3 separate regions of the Homo sapiens genome follow, and regions 1 and 3 are each linked to region 2. Evidence: promoter capture Hi-C in 16 types of primary human blood cells and fetal thymus (Javierre and others, 2016). All regions are on one chromosome and are shown on one strand. Each heading gives the region's core, a stretch centred on a gene start or on the middle of the fragment in contact. The rest is flanking DNA. Distances are from core to core; before and after follow the strand shown.

Region 1 (4,590 bases), core at 1,050-3,549, 110 kb after region 2:
CTCACTTAAACCATAGCTCCGTGTGGAGGCAAAACTAATAATGTGAGATGGTGAAAAGAGGAGGCATCTGCTTAAGGGCATGACTATGGTTCTGTAGTAATGAATTTGGACGCATTAGTTATGCAAACAGAATCTGGTGAGCAGAGACTACAGCAGGGGCTATGAGTGGTGAGGCTTTCTATGCCTCAGAATTCTAGGAATCCTAAAACACTCAGTGTGGCTACTGTCGCCAAAGACAAGCAGCACGGGAGGGAGAAGCTAGCATTGGATGGAAATCCAGAGTTGTGGGATTCGGGAATACCCTGGCTCTACCAACAACTCAGGTTACCAGAATAAGTCACTTTACCAATGGGGTACCTGTTTCGTCATTCGCAAAGTGAGATAATTGTTTCATCTACAAGATTCCTATAACTTTAAAATTTTATGACTCAAAGTTCCTGAGCTATGGAACCTATGCCTTCTAGATCAAAATTGTCCAGTAGAAATATAATGTAAGCCACTTATGTAACTTTAAATGCTTTATTGCCACATTAAAATATGTTTTTAAAAAGATGAAATTAGGTCTTATAATACTTTTATGTAACCCCCTATGTCCAAAACATTATGGTTTTAGTGTAAGTCTTTGAAATCTTGACTAGCTATGCATACTTCAAGTGGCCAATAGCCACATGTGCCTAGTGGCTACTGTCTACCATATTAGATATCATAGCTTTAGGCAGTTGTGTAAAGTTCACAGGATGGGAGCAGGAGCTACATTTCTCTTTGATGCTCTGAGCCATAGTTCCAAAAACTAGAACTATTTACCAAAATTACTGGAGGAACTTAAAAATGTCTGAGCCCACCCCATTACCTTGGCCATGGATCATGTCTTATATCTCTCTAGATAAATCGGAAGTGCAGCCTGTCCATACCAATCTACAGGACAGCGTTTAAAAGCCTCTTCACTCTGAGCTAACAGCCTTCATGCCATTCAGGGGTGGGTTGAATAAGGGAAGCAATAGTCATGTGGTTAGCATCCTCTTCAGGGATCCTCCAGATAGTTATTGGGCGAACTATGTTTTGTCTAGTATGTGAGCTGGAAGATTTCAACACTAATTCTATGACAGTGTAATTGTCTTGTTATTGAAGGCTATTTAACTTTTTCAAGTTAAAATGTGTTAAAGAACAATGAGCAAATGTAAAACAAAGGAGGTCAGATTGTACTTTGCCAGGATGTGTCCACTTGTTGCCTTGATGGAGCTGCAGCTGTAGTTATAGATCTGCTTTTGAGCCTGCTTAGTATTTGCATTGTAGACTGGTTGCTCACAATCTTCCTAGGACTGATTCTCACCTTTGAGTGTCTGCAATTTAGTATTAACAGATTAGTTGAGATAACATATCAAATTGAGCAGTCCCATAATGCTTTTATTTTACTGACATGAAAGAAGCGGGTATATGTATTGGAAAATTCGCTTTTAGACTTCTGAAATCATTTAAGCATGGACAAAGGAAGCTACTCTACTAGGGCACAAAACAGAAATTAGGCTAAATGAGCCCTAGCCAGCATTATCCTAAAAGGAAAGGAAATAGGAGTCTGTGGCCTAATTGGAGTAGAAGGCTTAAAAGTATCAGCTGAAAAACAATTGGTAAATAAGCAGTAACCTGAGGCTCTACAGTCTGGTCATACCTGAAGTGCTCAAATTAGAAGAATGTGAAGGTTTGAGGAAGGTACACAGAAATTGTGAGTCTCATATAATGCTGGGGGAAGTATAAATTGGTACAATACTTTGAGAGAGGATTCGGAGGACAAATATGTAACAAATCTTTAAAAGGTATGTAAATTTGCATCCAGCAATTCCACTCCTTAGAATATATGCACGTATGTGTGAAACTGTATGTATGCAAAGTTGTTCAACATGGTGTTGTTTAAATTAGCAAAATACTGAAAACAACTCAAGTGTCCAATAATAAAAATGCTTAAATGAATTACGCATATAGGTATGTGTGCCTTTATATATGTATGTGTCTATGTAAAAATGTGTAGTGTGTATTATATATGTGAATGAGTACAGTGAAATTGACACCAGTGTCAAATTTGGCGTATTTCCATGGAAAGCACATTTCATTAAAAAGCCAATTACAGATTGGCTTTTTATAAAACCTGTCACTATTTTATTATAAAACCTGTCACTATTTTATTATAAAAAGTAATGTAAAACATGTCACTATTTTATTATAAAAAGTAATGTAACCAAAAAATATAATTACAGGAAAAACTGTGGGAAAATAAACAGAAAATTATAATTTTTATATAGATGTTATAAGAATGCAAGTAATTTTCATTTCATTTACATAATTATGAACATGGATTTCATGTTTCTGCCCAGTGGGGTCTGTTTTCAGATTAGACCCATTCTGAAGATAAATCACCTCACCAAAAGCCAGAAAATACCATCCTTTCCTTAGATGGGAAAAGCAAGTTTCTTGAGCCCCTTCCCATTTTGACAGAGTTGTAACTGAAGTGCTTGTAAGGCCAGATTGTATGACAATTCCATGAGCTTCCTGGTTCCCTTACTGTACAAACCCTCCACCCACTCTCCCTTAAAATAACTCATGCCTTTTGAGACAGCATGAGGGGGTGACTCTGTTTCTTATACCAGAAAAAAGAGCCCGACTCAAGAACAATGACTGACCTCCAGAGCAGTTGTAAGGTCCACATGAGGTTATGTTGTCTAAGCTCCTAGTAGCACATAACACACAACAGGCTTTCAATAAATATTACTTACTGTTATCCCATCTCCTTAAAAATTTTAAAGGGATTTTGCTCATTAGAGTTATATAGTCTGGGTCAACATTTACTTAACAAATCTCTAATCCTTGCCTCATATATCAAGGACCTGAACTAATATTATTCTTTTTTTCTTTAAGAGAAAGACTATATTTCAGGAAATACTATATCCAAGTATTGCTGTAGATATAGGTGTACATTTGGAAGCCATCTGAAGTCTAGATTTTTGAAAGTGGTGTCATATCACTCTTTAAAAGTAGATAGGCATTATAATTCAGTATCTGAAGACTGCTTGCCTCTACTCTAAAATATTTTCTAAGAGTCTCAGTATATGACATAGGAGTATGTTTAGATTGATTATAAGATTTTTTTAAATTTAAAATAATTACCAAATTGTTTTACATCAGCCATTAAAGCTCACAAAAACCAAACATCTTTATAGACAATCTCTCATCAAATGAGAACAGTTATAAAATAAGCTAGATATCTGTCTGAATCCCCTTATGTGACAACAGTAAGTGTCCAATGGTTGGAGACAGTCAGATCTATGATCAAGTAACAGCTGTGCAATGTATTTGTTCCATAACCTTAAGCAAATTTACTTAGCCTCCCCAAATCTCAGTTTTCTGGGAATATCAATGCCTCATCTTTTGAGAGTATAAGGATGAGAGATAAAGAATGTAAAGTGTTGGACACAATGCTAGGAAGTGTAAATGCTCAATGGTAGCTAGTATTATTATGATTGAAACAAAGTTTATTTAAAGAACCTTACTGAGAAACCTTTATAAGATTTTTCTGGAAATTAAGAAGGCACTCATGAAGAAAGATATTTATTCCAAGTAACTATCTATCACATAAACAGATTTATTTGGAATACTACAAAGGAAAATATCCCTTAATTTTCCACCCAATATTACCTAACACACACATGCACAATTCCATCATGACTACTCCCCCTTAGCAGTCTTTTCATTTTTCCAGAGCAAAAGTAGGACATAAAGTTCCTTCTCATGAACCAGAAGTTAGAGGTCATCATCAGTTCATTTGGAAAAATATCCATCAGTGTTTATACACACACAGACCCACACACACAAACACACATTTACTCCTATGTATATTTTAACTATAAATTAGTAAAGACCTAGATTTTAATAGTTAGCTAACATAAATGAATGAGGTAGTGGGGAAGCCCAACCACTTATGACCACAAGACTCATATCTCTCTCTTACCCTATTAAGGGACTGTTATAAGTCCCTGATGGACTTGTCTGACAAACACATTCCACAGTCATACAAATCATTCATTCTGGAAGAGAGAAAGAGAGAGAGGAAGGAGGAGGGGGGAAGGAGAAAGAAACGAGGAAAGAAAGGAAGACTTCACGTGTGGGGCATGTACGTGGGGTGGGCTGGAAAGCTAGGTGAGTTTTGGAAAGCCTATTTTTTGCCCACCCAGAGCTTGCCCAGACTTGCCCTAAGGCTGTGTTGCAAAATGGGTAATGATTTCTCTGCCAGGTCTGTTATTGGAATGAGTAAACTCTCAGACCTAACATTTTTTTTTTCTTGGCCATCTTACTCCTTCAACACAAACATCTGAGGCTGTGGTGGTTTTAAAAAGCATCCCAAAGTTCCTGTTTTTTATTTCTCAATTTCTTGATGTTTACTATCCAGTTCAAGAGCTACTGACCTCTGCCTCACCCAGCACTAACCCTGTGGATTTTAAGTCCTTATGCTTGGAGAACCACTGCTCCAAGCACAACTAGCCTCCATTCAGAGTCTAGAAATTAGGATCAATAACCTATGCAAATTCAGCACCATATTGAGAG
Region 2 (4,362 bases), core at 1-2,500:
TTTTATTCAGATATTCTCTTGACGGCAAATTAGATGCAAGGAGCCATTCTAGATTTTCTTAGGGTACTGTATATCTGGAGAAAAGTCACCGATTTTTCCCTCACCCCAGCGGCCCTGAGAAAGCTCGGCCTCTCGGCTCCTCCCAAACGCCCCCAGCGCCAGCGGCAGACCTGCGACTGAGCCTTCAGATCCTTCAGGAGGTCCTGCACGTCCGACGCCTTGGCCTGGTTGCACGGCACCAGCGGCAGCTCCGCGGCGCAGCTGCGGTTGCGGCCGAGGCACAGGCGCTGCGCGAAGGCCGCGCTCCCGGTGGCCGCGCACTCGTAAAAGGCGCCCCCGAGCAGCGCCACGGCCACCCAGGTGAGGGGCGCGAGCGCGGCGGCCGCGCTGATTTGCGTGCACACCAGGGAGCCGCGCAGCGCCGATCCGCAACTCGCGCGGGCGCTGGAGCAGCATCCGGTGAGCAGGCGCCACGTGCGTGCGCTCAGCACGTAGCCCAGGAGGAAGAGCGCGAGCGCCGGCACCAGCAAGAAGACCAGGCCGTAGGGCAGGTTCCAGGCGGCGCTGCACGGGCACTGGAATGCCACGGCGGAGAAGATGCGCTCCCCGCCCGCCGTCAGCAGGGTCACCAGGCCGTAGCCCAAGGCGCTGTGGTGCTTGACGTGCAGGTCCAGCACCGCCCGAAACTTCTCCATGAGCCTCGTCCCCCGGGGCGTCGCGCACAGGCCCAGATCCTTCTGCCTCTTCGTTGTCCTGCTTGTCAAATGGTTTTGGTGGGATGGGGACCGGGGCTTTCCACTCTGCGAGAAGCAGCCTTTTTTTTTTTTTTTTTAAAGGGAAGAGGGCTTCTCAGACCTTCCTAAAGTTTCACTTTCTCATTTCAGCCACACCACCTCTGGTTAACAGAACCAGGCAAGCAAACACCCCCAGGACCTTGACTTCTCTGGCACCCACCCCATTCCAAAGGCAGAGGCACCAGTTATCTTCCTCCCCCAATTCAGGAACTCTGACAGAAGGTTGACCTTGTTCCTTTATTACCACCAATCTGACAACGAACCAGGAAACTAACCTTCTTGACCCACGGCCGCCAGTTGGAAAAACTGGGAAATACCAGATTTTCCTCTATTGCAGCCACCCTAGTTACTAAGCCAGATCACAGTAAAACCAAATAATTATCAAAAAACTGATTACTTACGGGAAACATTATTCAAGGACAAATTTCTGGTTCCTCTTCCATAAGCTAAATCAGCAAAGTCCAGCTCAAGTTCTGGTACTTCTATGATGGGCGGCACCCTTTCCATCTCCCTACCGGACAGAGCCACCAGCCTAGTTCACACTGACTCTTCTCTCCTCTGCCTGATCTCCTTCAGGACATTAGACCAAATATACTGTATTGATTTACTCGTCAATACAATGTTCTTTTCTTTCAGATATGTCATAACACTGTCAATGCCTGGAGGAGAGTAAAATTCTGACTCTGACCACCAAGCTGATCTGCACAGAAGGGGATACATGATTATTCAAAGAATGCTAGTTGAACCCAAAATTTCAAACTGCAGCTACATCTATCTAATGTTGTTTCCTCCACCTTCAGTTTTCTCAAGCAGCGTTGTTCTGACACAAACACTGTAACCACTTTTGTGATATTGAGCCTTACTCTGTGTGACTCCAGACTGAGCTGAGGTGTGCTTGAAAGAACATGGGCTTTGAAGTCAAGTGCATCTTGTCTGTGGTGTGTTTAACAAGTATGCCCCTCTGAGACACAGCATCCTTATTTGTAAAAGAAGGATAATAGTGCCCACTTTTCAAGATTACTGACATGAGTAGATTGAGTAGCATATGTAAAGTGCCTTTACATATAGGATATGTCTGTTAAATGAATGATCAGTGTGAGAGTTTTCCCCTTAAAATGCAATTTGGGGAATAGACAACAAATAATTACATTGTACATAACCTAAGAATCTTGATGAATACTGAATTTTGAATTTTAAACGAGGATCAATTCAGTGGATAGTATTAAGTGACTCAATGACTCTGCTACCTTAAGAGAATTGGTGTACACCTTAGCTGTCTGCTTCACCACAAGGAGAGTATCTGGATATGGAGCTTGGGTGGGCAGTTCACAATGAAATGGTTCTTATTGGTGCCCATCCACCAGGCTTGCCTTATTTTATCTGGAAAGAATAGGTAGCCCATGGAACCAAGTGAATTTTTAGAGAATGGACAAGAAATGTATTATTCTTTTCTTAGTCCAACTTGCCTTCTTAACTACTCCCTCTCCAACACCACCAGCAGGGTGCCTAGCGTAGTGCCAAAAGCTGTCATTCCATAGTGATGTGGTAAATAGACATCTTTTTTCTATGTGTTTAGGGGCCAGCCCCAGATGAGGGTCTTCATGGTCATGCAGGAAAGTTGGGGCCCTCTTCTCTGAGATTAGACCAGATACTGCTAGGCTTCCTGTCAACTTGCAGCAAAGTTGCGTGTTTGAAGCGAATCACTTCTGCTCTGACTGTTATCTTTGTAATTTGTCATCTCCCAAGATAAATTTCTTCCCCTGTGCCTTGAGTAACTCTCCTCTTACTGCTGGACTCTTCTTCACCTCTACCATAATACTCTAAGATGTGTCCTCTCTCGTCCACCCTTTCCCATATTCCATCATGCAGAAACATCACTATATCCACAACCTTTGTGCAGATGGCTTTATCCAAATCTCCCCTAACCGAAACCTAATAAAAATGCATCCTTCTGTCTTCTTGAGTGAGATTAATTTATTCTCCCACATCTCTCAAACCAAGAGGGATGGCTGGCATTTTCCTGGTTACCTGCTGATAGCCATACCAGGGTTTTACCACTGTGCTATAATAGTTTATCATCCACTGAGGCTCAATCTAATCAGCACCATCTCCTCCTTCACCTCATTCCTATGGTCTGTTTTCATTCCCTTCATTTTTTAAGACTCTAATGAAGTCCATCACCTTCTCTTCCCTGGCTTCTGTTATTTAGTCAAGGATTTGTTTGAAATATGTTTACTTACAGAAACTTTTATCTATCAGCCCCCTTCCCCAACTAGATTAATTCATTTGTTAACCAGTTATTAATTAGTTCATTTGTTCATTCAGTCATTCATTTAAATGTTTAATAAGTACTCAGAATATGTCAAGTACCTATCAAAAGTGCCTGGTATTGCTGGATACAACAAGGAAGAAGACACAGGTATCCTGCCGTCTTTGAACTTACAGTAGAGATGATATAGGAAATGGAGAGGAGGGGTCCTAAAGATTACGCACAGGATAAATTGGAGTTAGAGAGTGTCCTGAAAGAGCCTCTGTGAGAAACTGACATTTAATCTGAATGAGTCTGGAGTACAAAGGAGCTTGGTTAGAAAGAAGGCTAGAGTGATGGGAGCATTGAGAATGACAGGCAAGTTGGCACATCATGAGGCCAAAGCTGCAAGTGGAAGGTCAGGTTTAGGTGCTTCACAGACCAGAATATGTAGTCTGCAATTCTGCCTCTGAAACTTTCACAGACTGAGCTGCATCCTGACATATTGTCTTGTCAGCTTGTGTCTCTAAACACCACCTCCTGGGTTTGCTACTTCTGTGCTCTCCCAAACCCAACTCTCCCAGATGCAATGATCATTCAGAACTTAGTACAGGTTTCTATAATTGAGAGTCCAGGTTTTGCCTGCCAGCCTGAATGTTTCCCCAGCACTTGGTCTTGAGTCTAGTACCCTGCCATCCACTCCCACCACCACTGGATTGACTGGTTCTAGCTCTGGGTCTATTGAAGATTCCCAGCCCTCCATACCCAGGTCTGTTCTGAGAGGATATTGCTCAGAAGTTCAGCCCTTAGTGGAAATTGACTAACACCCTAATGGTGTGGAGAGGTAGACTAAATAATATTTTAAATGTCTTTACACTTTTGAAAGCCTGTGATTTGCTTCAGCTGTTAAGAAATGAGTAGTAGAATGTCATCGGTAAAGCCTGAGTCCTGTCCTCTTGCTCTCCTCCCTGGACAGTATGAGCTTCACCACTTGCTCCACCTTCTCCACCAACTACCATTCCCTGGGCTCTGTCCAGACACCCAGCTTCATCGCCCAGCTGGTCAGCAGTGCAGCCAGTGTCTATGCAGGCACCCAGGACTCTGGTTCCCGGATCTCTGTGTCCCGCTCCACCAGCTTCTGGGGCGGCATGGGATCCGGGGGCCTGGCTGCAGGGATGGCCAGGGGTCTGGCAGGGATAGCAGGCATCCAGAATGAGAAGGAGACCATGCAAAGCCTGAACGACTGTCTGGCCTCCTACCTGGACAGAGTGAGGAGCCTGGAGACCGAGAACTGGAAGCTGGAGAGCAAAATCCGGGAGC
Region 3 (4,654 bases), core at 1,772-4,271, 64 kb before region 2:
GATGAATATTCACAGCAAAAACAATTTATAAATTATTTTAAGACATCTTACAATTTGGGCCAGAAATATGGCAGATAGATTATTAAAAACATGAAACTTGTTTAAACAAGCATAACCACTTAGGCTTGTTTCTCCCCACTGAATAGGCAAGAACTGCCTTATGTAATCACTCACCCATTTGGTCTATTCCGCTTTGTACCTCTGGGAGGGGTGAAAAAGGAAAAATGTAGGAAATTTTCTTTTGTGGAAAAGCATATGTGTACAGCCACAAGCTTTGTGGATTTTGAGACTGATTGGATCAAACCCAGAAGGCCACATCCACTGTTTATGGCAGAGTTCCAACATGAAGGCAAAGCACCTGCAGAGGAATTACCCTTAAACTTTTATTATGACTGCATTTGCATAATATTATTTTTTCTTTCATCACAGAGAAGAATCTCTTAGGGGTTGATTCTTAGTAAATTCTGCAAGTCACTAAATAACTTAGCACTGCCTCTCACCTTCCTTATGAATGTCCATCTTCCATTTTTGTTCATAATCAGGACTTACAAGAAATCTGGCTGCATGTAGATGTCATTTTTGCTCTATTACTAAAAATACTCTAAGGGAGAAGTTTTTTTAAATTTTACTTTATGTTCTGGGATACATGTGCTGAACGCGCAGGCTTCTTACATAGGTATACATGTGTCATGGTGGTTTGCTGCTCCTATCAACCTGTCATCTAGGTTTTAAGCCCTGCATGCATTAGGCATTGGTCCAAATGCTCTCCCTCCTAGGGGAGAAGTTTTGAATCTTCCGGGTATCCCAGCACATGAATATCTAGGCTGCTCTGCCTTTGCATTGAAGATTATTGGTTTTATTTCTGCTGTTTAAGTTATTTGGATGAAACTCATGTGAAACTGACTTATGAAACTGTAGGGAAGGCAAAACTTCACCTCTATCCTCTTAGGATTTTTTTTTAAAGTTGTCCTGAGAATTAAATTGACATGAGACAGATCAACAGAAAAAAAGCATACACATTTACTTAACACATAGCATGGGAATCTTTTTTTTTTTTTTTTTTTTGTTTTGAGACGGAGTCTCGCTCTGTCGCCCAGACTTGAGTGCAGTGGCTCGATGTCGGCTCACTGCAAGCTCCGCCTCCCCGGTTCACGCCATTCTCCTGCCTCAGCCTCCCGAGTAGCTGGGACCAGGCGCCCGCCACCAAGCCTGGCTAATTTTTTGTATTTTTAGTAGAGACGGGGTTTCAGCGTGTTAGCCAGGATGGTCTCGATCTCCTGACCTCGTGATTCGTCCGTCTCGGCCCCCCAAAGTGCTGGGATTACAGGCGTGAGCCACCGCGCCGGGCCGGGAATCTTTAATAAAGAAATGGAGACCCAAGGAGTTGAACACTTACCTACTGAATTGGACAAAGAATAGTAATTTGTGAAAAGGCAACTAAATTATTTGGGGAGGCAAGAAGACAAGAATTATTTTAATAAAATCTGTACAGAATCCTCTCAGCCTCAATTGTCCCTCCTTGATGTTAAGAGTGTTGCTTTCTTTCTAGTACAGGGAGGATATCCTTCACATGGGAATTTCTTCTCCTGCCTTTAAGAAACAGCAGGAAGGTCAGAGCAATCTTGTGACTGCTGCTTTTCAAGTGCCTATAACTCAAAATAATGAATATGTATGTCAAAGTGGCAATATTTTGGAGTGGCACATTCTTAAGTCCTTTAAAACAAACCTAAGTGGACTGAAAATAGCAATAGCTTTGCTATTTATTAATGTAACTATTTACAATAAAATTCTTTATTAAGAAAAAAAACCATGGAGTAAATACCCTGGGAAACAAAACTCTAAAGCAAGATCTGTCTGGGTCTAAGGATTCAGAGACACATCAGGAACACCAAATCCCAGGCCATCCCTGCCTGGTGTAATGTTTAGTTTGTGTCAGAAGTAAGATTTTGTTCAGACTTGCCGTGACCTCTCAGTGGTACTCCCGGGCAAGGGTTATCAATTCTAGCTCCTGCATAGACTCACCTGGAGCTTTCCAAAAAATCCTGACTTTCAGAACTTACTTTTGACCCAATAAATTGTGGTCTCTGGGAATAAGGCACAGGCATTAGAACTTTTTAAATGCTCTCCAAGTGATCCTAATTGGCCTCCACTGTTTAGAACAAGAGTTTCCTAACTTTGTTCTGTGGAACTCTAGGGTGATTCCTATAGAAGTGAGGCTGCAGGTTAAGGCTGCCACGCCTCCAGACCCTCCATCCAAATTCTTCTCCTAGTTACCTCTCTTTTTATGTCTTTTACATGCTTCAAATAAAATAAAAATCCATTTGGAAAAAAAGTGGAAAACACTAGAGAGATATGATCAAAGTGGAACAGTTTTGATTGAAACAAAGTCCATCTCACCTTTAGTTGGGACAACAAACTTGTCTATAGGGAAAGAGGTAGGGAAGGAGGCTGTGTTTTTGAGGACATTTCTCAAAATAAGGTGGAAATGGATCAGTTTGTAAGCATATATTTCTTTAATTGCTTGACTTCATGCATAGGGTCGGTGAAACCCACTCATAGTTAGCCAACTGTTTAAGGAAGTAACCCTTTTAAAAACACTGATTACTATCCCTCATGTTTCCTCCGTGACACAAATACCAACAAAACCCCTGGGAGAAATAATTGTGTTCTGTTGAAACCATCAGCAATTATTATGATTGCAGAAGCACATCTCTTTATGATAAAATATAGGCACAGAATGTTTTTACAATGCAACTAGTCACCATTTTATAGGTTATAAACTGCCGAATAATGCATATATCTTAAGGTACTGTTCTTAAGCAAAGTTACTTAATATCATGAGTTCTTACTTTGCTGACTTAATCCTATTTCTTGAAATGGCCCAGTGAATGTGATTAGGTGAAGTAATTAATTCATTTTCCCATTTTAATCTCAAGTTTTCATTGCAATTTAAAACTTGTGAAGATTTCTCTCTGGCATTGTTGTGGCTGTAGGTACAGGAAACCCAAAATTATAAAAAGATAGCTGGCCAGACAGAAAGGTGGACTCTAAAATATATAAAAATTAAAGTTTGGGGACTATTTGAAATCTTTTATAAACTTTCCACTGCTAAAAATTCCTTCTATATCAATTGTCATTTTTATCTAAGGAAATTTTTAAAAAAATAAAATGGAAAGTTTACTTCATTGATACAGTAGGAGCATAGTTTGAGCATAACTATCCTAAATATTTAGAAACCCAAGGTGAAAAGCTGTTCAGGATGGGAAAGAATCCAGGGGCCCAGACAGAGGCCAGGAAACTTGGAGATAGACCTCTATTCCCAAGAGGATATTAAGAATACAACTGGCTGGGAATTCACACACCACTGGCTGTAAGATTTAGGACAACAGAGTTGAGACTTTGAGATGTACTAATTCAACATCCTCATTTTACAAATGAGGGAACATACTTTGAAAAGTTATATGAACACTCAAGAATATACTAAAATGAGGCAGAATTTGTGTGATGGAAATTAGGATTAGACACATGTAGGTCCAAATTGATGTTCAATAACTTAACAGTGGCATAACCACCTTAGCCTTTTTGGACTCTAGCATTATTTATAAACATAGAAAAGGTAATACCTGCCTCCCAGTATGCTTGTGAAACTTAGATGAAACAAGAGCCAAGACTTCAAGTTAACTTAGTTTTTTAAATTAAATTAATGAAATTCCAATAGGAATATAGGAGTGGTTTAGTTTTAAATTCAAAACAATATAGTTTCTTGAAAATGATATAGCACAGAAAGGAAAATAAGTTGAAAATTTTCCAACTTTTTTATTGAAATATAAGAAAATGATTCTCCACAATGAAAGAGTAAACTTGTAGCAGGAAAAATCGTTCCAAAAAGACCTACCTGAAGGCCTATTTAACATTTTTGGACATGAAAGATAAAGAAACCAATGAGAATATAGGATAAAACATCTTGTTAGTAATAAAGAAAGAAATAGAGATGGCATCAGAAATCAGGCTGTGGCCACCTCAGCAATATTCAATGACAAAAGACAATGAAGTAATGCTTACAATACACTCATGTAGAGAAAGTATGAACCAGACAAGCTGTCCTTCAATTCGAGAACAGGCCAACAGGCTGAATATGTAAGAATTCAGAGAATAGCATTCCTGTGAGCCTTTGCTGAGAATGATACTAGAAGGTAAACTCCAGCTAAGCAGGGGGTGATTGACAAAACTTCAGCAAAATAACTGAGGTGACCATGTCATTTATTTTGTTGTGTACCTTATGAAATTTTTCAAACATATACAAATGTAAAGAGAATAATGTAATGAATTCCGTGTACCTACCATCCAGCTTCAATAGTTTCCATATTTTGCCAATCTTATTTCATCTTTCAGCTTTCTCCCTAAACTCTTTTTTCTAGAGTATTTTAAAGAAACTTCTAGACATCATGGCAGTTCACACATAAATATTTAAATATACATCTCTAACTGAAGAACTTTTTAAAAAACATAAATCGGCACACCATTACCACACATAGCAAAATTAATAATTCTCTAAAAATCATCTAATATTCATTCATATTTTCCTAAATATCTCAAAGATATCTTGTTACAGTTGGTTGTTGGAAACAGGATACAAATAAGGTCTATATAGCAT

The links. The method cuts DNA at HindIII sites, captures the fragments that hold promoters and counts their contacts. A CHiCAGO score of 5 or more calls a contact.
Region 1: a contact is called between a fragment that was not itself captured here and the fragment with the promoter of CALHM6 in region 2, in 6 of 17 cell types (neutrophils, total B cells, monocytes and 3 more). The highest score is 13.3, in neutrophils.
Region 3: a contact is called between a fragment that was not itself captured here and the fragment with the promoter of CALHM6 in region 2, in 9 of 17 cell types (total B cells, naive B cells, monocytes and 6 more). The highest score is 25.8, in total B cells.

The regions. Positions count from the first base shown.
Region 1 is chr6:116,352,430-116,357,019 of GRCh38, reverse strand. It overlaps a transcript of DSE not described here. Among named protein-coding and RNA genes, the nearest start is that of DSE, 16 kb to the left of the region's middle. RefSeq lists an enhancer at 4,183-4,292. The HindIII fragment of the contact is 8,563 bases long and covers 1-4,590 here.
Region 2 is chr6:116,458,263-116,462,624 of GRCh38, reverse strand. It overlaps CALHM6 (calcium homeostasis modulator family member 6), which reads right to left and starts at 1,250. Exons shown (of 3, transcript NM_001010919.3): 1 at 1,196-1,250; 2 at 171-753. The coding sequence starts at 695. It overlaps CALHM6-AS1 (CALHM6 antisense RNA 1), which reads left to right. Exons shown (of 2, transcript NR_174951.1): 2 at 1,431-2,147. It also overlaps the pseudogene KRT18P22. RefSeq lists a silencer at 185-264 and enhancers at 645-724, 735-844. The HindIII fragment of the contact is 9,761 bases long and covers 1-4,362 here.
Region 3 is chr6:116,523,931-116,528,584 of GRCh38, reverse strand. All of the region lies in intron 3 of TRAPPC3L (trafficking protein particle complex subunit 3L), which reads left to right. CALHM5 (calcium homeostasis modulator family member 5) reads right to left here. Exons shown (of 2, transcript NM_153711.5): 2 at 3,797-4,654. Among named protein-coding and RNA genes, the nearest start is that of CALHM5, 15 kb to the right of the region's middle. RefSeq lists a silencer at 1,553-1,753. The HindIII fragment of the contact is 5,494 bases long and covers 275-4,654 here.